2 separate regions of the Homo sapiens genome follow, and region 1 is linked to region 2. The links are contacts of gene promoters, found by promoter capture Hi-C in blood cells and fetal thymus (Javierre and others, 2016). All regions are on one chromosome and are shown on one strand. Each heading gives the region's core, a stretch centred on a gene start or on the middle of the fragment in contact. The rest is flanking DNA. Distances are from core to core; before and after follow the strand shown.

Evidence for each region. The method cuts DNA at HindIII sites, captures the fragments that hold promoters and counts their contacts. A CHiCAGO score of 5 or more calls a contact.
Region 1: a contact is called between a fragment that was not itself captured here and the fragment with the promoter of MON2 in region 2, in 1 of 17 cell types (total CD8 T cells). The highest score is 5.7, in total CD8 T cells.

The regions. Positions count from the first base shown.
Region 1 is chr12:63,786,843-63,790,161 of GRCh38, forward strand. All of the region lies in intron 3 of RXYLT1 (ribitol xylosyltransferase 1), which reads left to right. Among named protein-coding and RNA genes, the nearest start is that of RXYLT1, 8.6 kb to the left of the region's middle. The HindIII fragment of the contact is 202 bases long and covers 1,290-1,491 here.
Region 2 is chr12:62,464,941-62,468,363 of GRCh38, forward strand. It overlaps MON2 (MON2 regulator of endosome-to-Golgi trafficking), which reads left to right and starts at 1,886. Exons shown (of 35, transcript NM_015026.3): 1 at 1,886-2,378. The coding sequence starts at 2,268. RefSeq lists a silencer at 1,588-1,907 and enhancers at 1,938-2,047, 2,043-2,542. The HindIII fragment of the contact is 1,301 bases long and covers 637-1,937 here.

The DNA of each region.
Region 1 (3,319 bases), core at 141-2,640, 1.3 Mb after region 2:
GTGGCTCATGCCTGTAATCCCAGTACTTTGGGAGGCTGAGGTAGCTGGATCACTTGAGGTCAGGAGTTCGAGACCAACCTGGCTATCATCGTGAAACCCCGTCTCTACTAAAGATACAAAAATTGGCTGCAAGTGGCAGCACACACCTGTAATCCCAGCTACTTGGGAGGCTGAGGCAAAAGAATCCTTGAACCTGGGAGTCAGAGGATGCAGTGAGGTAAGATCATGCCACTGCCCTCCAACCCCGGGCGACAGAATGAGTCAAAGAAAAAAAAAAATTGGAGCCAGTCCTCTCAAACCCTACTGCTGCTTTATCAACTACATTTTTGGAATATTCTGAATCCTTTATTGTCACTTCACCAATGTTCACAACATTGTATCTTCACCAGAAGTAGATTCCATCTCAGGAAACCACTTTCTCTGCTCATTCATAAAAAGCAACTCCTCATCTGTTGAAGTTTTATCATGAGATTGAAGCAATTCAGTCACACCTTCAGGTTCCACTTCTAATTCTACTTTTCTTTCCATTTCTACCACATCTTCAGTGACTTCCTCCACTTAAATCTCGAACCCCTCAAAGTCATCCATGAGGGTTTAAATCAGCTTCTTCCAAATTCCTTTTAATGTTGATGTTTTGACCTCGTCCCATGAATCATGAATGTTCATGGTATCTAGAATAATGAATCATCTCCAGAAGGTTTTCATTTACTTTGCCCAGATCCATCAGAGGAACCACTGTCTGTGGCAGCTATAGCCTTATGAAAAGTATTTCTTTTGTTGTTGTTGTTTGTTGTTTTTTTTTTGAGACAGAGTCTTGTTCTGTCATCCAGGCTGGAGGGCAGTAGCGTAATCTCAGCTTCCTGCAACTTGCGCCCCTGGGTTCAAGTGATTCTCGTGCTTCAACATCCCAAGTAGCTGGGACTATGGGCATACGCCACCACACCCAGCTAATTTTTGTATTTTTAGTGGAGATGGGGTTTCACCATGTTGGCCAGGTCTCCTGTCTCGGACTCCTGTCCCCAAGTGATCCACCCGCTTCAGCCTCCCAAAGTGCTAGGATTACGGGCGTGAGCCATCGTGTCTGGCCAAAAAGTATTTCTTAAATAAGACTTGAAAGTCAAAATTACTCCTTGATCCATGGGCTGCAGAATAGATATTTTGTTAGCAGGTATGAGGACATGAATCTCCTGTACATCTCCATCAGATCTCTTGGGTGACCAGGTGCATTGTCAATGAGCAGTAATATTTTGAAAGGAATCCTTTTTTCTGAGCAGTACTTCTCAATAGTAAGCTTAAAATATTCAGTAAACCATGCTGTGAACAGATGTTGCTGTCATCTAGGCTTTTTTCCATTTATAGGGCACAGGCAGAGTAGATTTAGGATAGTTTTAAAGGTCCTAGGATTTTCAGAATGATAAATGAGCATTGGCTTCAACTTAAAGTCACCCAGCTACATTTAGTCCCTGATAAGAGAATCAGCCTGTCCTTTGAAGCTTTGAAGCCAGGCATTGACTTCTCTCTAGCTATGAAAGTCCTAGATGTCATCTTCTGCTGATATAAAGCTGTTTCATCTGCATTGAAAATCTGTTGTCTAGTGTAGCCACCTTCATCAATGATCTTAGCTAAATCTTCTGGATAACTTGATGCAGCTTCTACATTAGTACTTGCTGCTTCACCTTGCATTTTTATGTTATGGAGATGGCTTCTTTCCTTAAACCTCATGAATCAACCTCTGGCAACGTCAGACTTTTCTCCTGCAGCTTCCTCACCTTTCTCAACCTTCATAGAATTGAAAAGAGTGGAGGCCTTGCTCTGGATTAGGCTTTGGCTTAAGGGAATGTTGTGGCTGGTTTGATCCTCTATCCAGACTATTAAACCTTTCTCCATATGAGCAATAAGACTATTTCACCTTCACATCATTCATGTTGTTCACTGGAGTAGCACTTTTCATTTCCTTCAAGAACTTTTCCTTTGCATTCCCACCTTGACTGTTTGGCATAAGAGGCCTAGCTTTTAGCTTGCCTCAGCTTTTGACATGCCTTCCTCACTAAGCTTAACTATTTCTAGCTTTTGGTTGCAAGCTTCTCCAACCCACCTTATTTTATTGTTGTTGTTCTGTTTTGTTTTGTCTTAGGCTTTTAGCAGCCTGAAGCCATGGCTTTTAGTTTCTGTCTTTAGTAATAAGCAGAAAAGAGGGATAAGGAAGGGGTTTTACTGGCCCAACCAGAAACAGAAACTAAGAATCCATGCCTATATTCTCTCCCTTGGACACTCCTGAAAGTGAGAGACTTGCGACTCTTCCTTTCACCTAGAGGGCATTCATTATAGGGTTATTAATTATAGGGAACACTTAGAGGGCATTATAGGGTTAATAATTGGCCTAATAGTGTTGTGTCTCAGGGAATAGGGAGGCCCAAGGAGATGGGGAGAAATGGGGGAATACTGGTTGGTGGAGCAGTTAGACCACACACATAGCATTTATCTATTAAGTTTGCCATCAGATCTTGTGAGACTTATTCACTATCATGAGAACAGTACAAGAAAGACCTGCCCCCATGATTCAATTACTTCCCACCGGGCACCTCCCACAACATGTGGGAATTGTGGGAGCTACAGTTCAAGATGAGATTTGGGTGGGGACACAGCCAAACCATATCACCATCTCATAGTGAGCACATGCTGTTGGAAAATGGTACCAATAGAATTGCTTGACTGGGGATCACCACAAACTTTCAATTTGTAAAAAACTCTTTATTTGCAAAGTACAATAAAGTGAAGCACAATAAAATGAGGTGTGCTGGTATTATGGCCAAAGAGTAATACCGTTTCCTCTTAGGATTTAAGAGAACTATATTCAAGAAAGGTCACCATTGTATGAGATTTTTTTTAAACAGCTTATTAAAGTGTTAGGTTCATGAAAAGTAGCGTACATAATTTATCCAAAATTAATAAACTTTTATGCAATTGTAAGTCTTCAGTTGAAACAACTACATGGGTACTAACTTAAGTGTTTCCACACATTCACCATCCTTGTTTGACCAAAAGTGAATCAGAAGTAACGGCTCACCTTGAAGATATTGGAAGAATTTGTAAGTACTGTTAAGATACTTGTTGAAAATAAGTGTAAATATACTTTGTTTAAATAAACAAACGAGCTTATATCATTTAATTGTAGCCTCGAGACAATTCTAAGACAGAAGTAGAAAGGATATCATCAGTGTTGCAGGGCTCATCAGGCTCAGGAATGCTGATTTTCATCAACACATAGGCCCAAAGAATGAATTCCAGCATACCAAATAAATGATATAGAATGGAAAGA
Region 2 (3,423 bases), core at 636-3,135:
AAAAATCCAAAAGAAAAGTTGGCTACATAGTGAAAGTCAGAGAATTTGATCCTATATCACTAGCCCAATTACTAAAGCATCATTTTTGGCCAGGTGTGGTGGCTCATGCCTGTAATCCCAGCACTTCGGGAGGTCGAGGTGGGTGGATCACTTGTACTCTGGAGTTCCAGATCAGCCTGGCCAACATGCTGAAACCCCATCTCTACTAAAAAGAACAACAAACAAACAAACAAAAAGGCCTGCGGTGTGGCTCACGCCTTTGTAATCCTAGCACTTTGGGAGGCCAAGGCAGGTGGATTGCCTGAGCTCAGTAGTTGGAGACCAGCCTGGGCAACACAGTGAAACCCCATCTCTACTAAAATACAAAAAATTAGCCGGGCGTGGCAGCCTACGCCTGTAGTCCCAGCTACTCGGGAGGCTGAGACAGGAGAATTGCTTGACCCTGGGAGGTGGAGGTTGCAGTGAGTGGAGATCGCGCCACTGCACTCCAGCCTGAGTGACAGAGTGAGACTCCGTCTCCACCCCCCACCCAAAAAAAGCGCCTCGTTTTTACAAGCTCCCTGAGACCTCAAGAATAATGTCTGCCATATATTCCATTTGAACTTTTTTGCTAAATTCACCAGTTTTCATACATAAAGCTTATACCATAGGAGGTGTCAAGTTTCCCAGAAGTTGTGTAATAGGCACAAATGATCAAAATTACTGCCCTAGGAGCTCTCTACTATTACCTCATCTGTCCCCTTTATCCATCCTTGCTTTGCTTCTTATCAGAAGGAAAAATAAAATAAAATTATTTAGCTTACAAAGTAGCTCTGTTACAGCCAAACAGCGCTATCCACTGACAATCTCATGGCTCACTGTCTTCCATCATGTCATAAGCTCAGCTGTCTGAAGGTGTTGGTTTCTTCATCTCTACTGTTTCTGGTTTTTCCTCCCTCATTTTCTGCTTTCTGACCAGCAGCTGCAAAATGTCTTGGGGAAAAAGTAGACCAACCTGGATCTTGGGGAAATACAGATGAAGATTTTTCTGTTTGGCTTTTGCCTCATATTTATTTGGCACTTCAGACCTGATGAAGGCTTTTATGTATCTGTGCCTTATTTGAGCCTCGAAACTCTGATTTTATAATAGAAGGGTATTCATTCAACAAGTATGTACTGATTACCTGCTATATGCCAGACACTGTTCTAGGTGCTGGAGATACACAGGAAACAAAATAAGATTTAAAAAGAGGAAGAACCGGCAGCCCAACTCGCGAAACTCTCCTTTTAGCTGGGAGCATCTGCCAGTAAAGGGGCCGGGACAGATCTCGTAGCGCCTGGTAGGTGATTGGAGGAATTTTGGCTTTTACTTTGAGTGAGATGGGAGGCCAGCGGAATGCGTGGAGCAGAGGGTAGTCTCATTTTAGAGATTAGGAAAATAAGAGGCTACCCCACAGTAAGTGCACCAGTTGCGTTTAAAGAAAAAAAATGTATATTAACAGGAGGTAGCCACTGATTTGGGGCCACTAGTCCAGAGATTCGAAATGAAGCGGGAGGAGACACGTTAAGATTAATCTACAGGGAAACAAATTATTTACACCGAAATACAATTTAACACAAACATACGCAAAGAGATATGCCAAGGAGTACTCGGGGGCTCTGTTCAGGCACTTGTTAATGAAAACGAAGCGAATCTTGACGCCTTAAACCCTGTCTAGCCTACTTGATTCCGGGGGTGGGGCTGTGGGAATCGCTGCCCACCCGGAATCCCGCCTGCCCCGAGCATGGCCAAGCCCCAGCCCCGCCCCGCCGACGGCCTGCCGCCGGGGTTGGCCGCGGCGGTGGCGGAGGCCACGGTACCCGGAAGTGCGGCTGACGTGTCCCGGCAGCGCTCGGAATTGTGGGCGACTCGGCTAATGGCGTCGGCGAGTCTTAGGGGCCTGGGGAGCTGGCGCTGAAGCTTCTTGCCAGGTTGGCTGGTGACACCCGGTGTGGCTGGGCCCCGCGGCAGCGGAGGGACCTGCCCGCCTTGTGGGTTTCTCGGCCAGAGTCGGCGGAGCCTAGCGGGACGGTGCGACTGCGGGGGGCGCCTCCGAGAAAAGCCAGAGGTGTTGCGGGGAAGCTGCTGGGGGACGCTCGAGCAGGCTCCGGGTTCGCAGCCCAGGGCCCAAGAAGCGGGCTGCTGAAGGACCAGAGACACCGGGAGGGAGCTGCCTGTGGCCCTAAGGAGCTGACCGTGCCAGAGCTTGTTTGTACCTCTCGGAAATTGGCTGGGACCTTGGAGGATCATGTCCGGCACCAGCAGCCCCGAGGCGGTGAAGAAGCTGCTGGAGAATATGCAGAGCGACTTGCGCGCCTTGTCACTGGAGTGCAAGAAGAAATTCCCACCTGTCAAAGAGGTAAGCTTCAGGTGACGTCAGGAGAAGGCACTGTGAGCATGCCTGGTCCTGTTAGACTCAGTGCTTCACCCCAGTTTCCAGTCCTAATTTTCATTCAGGCCTCACCTTTCCAGATTTGTGAGTCGGTGGGTTGTTCCACAAGGGCTTTTTATAGTTTCCACTGGAGAGGGCTGAGGCACTTTGATTTTCTCCCCTCTCCTGTCCTCCCAGTTTAGGAGTGAAGTTCATGAAGTGAGCCTATTCAGTTAATCCAGCTAGGTGTACTGTGCACTAGCCTATTCTGGCCTTTTTCTTACTTGAAACTGGCCAAACCAAAATTGAAAAACTTGTTTGTTGCTCCCCGAAACGAGTATCCACCCATCTTGTTGAAACCTGTACTCCTCACGTTTATGGCATATCACTGAATTGGAAACAATTTTCCTTCTGGTATATATCATTCAGCTTAACTCTGTATCAATCCTTTGACGTGTTAATAAACTATCCAGAGCCACCTAATTTATGAAGAATATTGAAGATCCACATAATCATGTTAAACCTTGTTATGAGCAGTACTGTAGTGGGAAGTTGGGCTTGCAGTCAGAGCGAATACACCTGAATTTAGTTCCAGCAATAAATCTTAACCTCTTTGAGCTTCGGGTTTTTTTTTCCAGCTGTAAAATAGGGTTAAAGGATGGTTTTATATTATGTATGGGAAAGATGTCAGAGCAGAAGGGTATTATTAAAGAGATCCCAGTAAATAATACATGGAAATTTAATTCTCCAAATAGTTCTTGAGGTGAAATATTTAACATTTGGTTACTATTTGCTTTTTCTCTTAAAATGCCATTTTAATTCTCTAAAAAAAAAAAACAAACAAAAAAACCCACCAAAAACAGGCCCGGCTAATTTTGTATTTTTAGTAGAAACAGGGTTTCTCCATGTTGGTCAGGCGGGTCTCGAACTCCCGACTTCAGATGATCCCCCTGCCTCGGCCTCCCAAAGTGCTGGGATTACAGGCGTGAGCCACAGCGCCCGGCTGTTTTTATTTTTATTCCTATTTAATGTA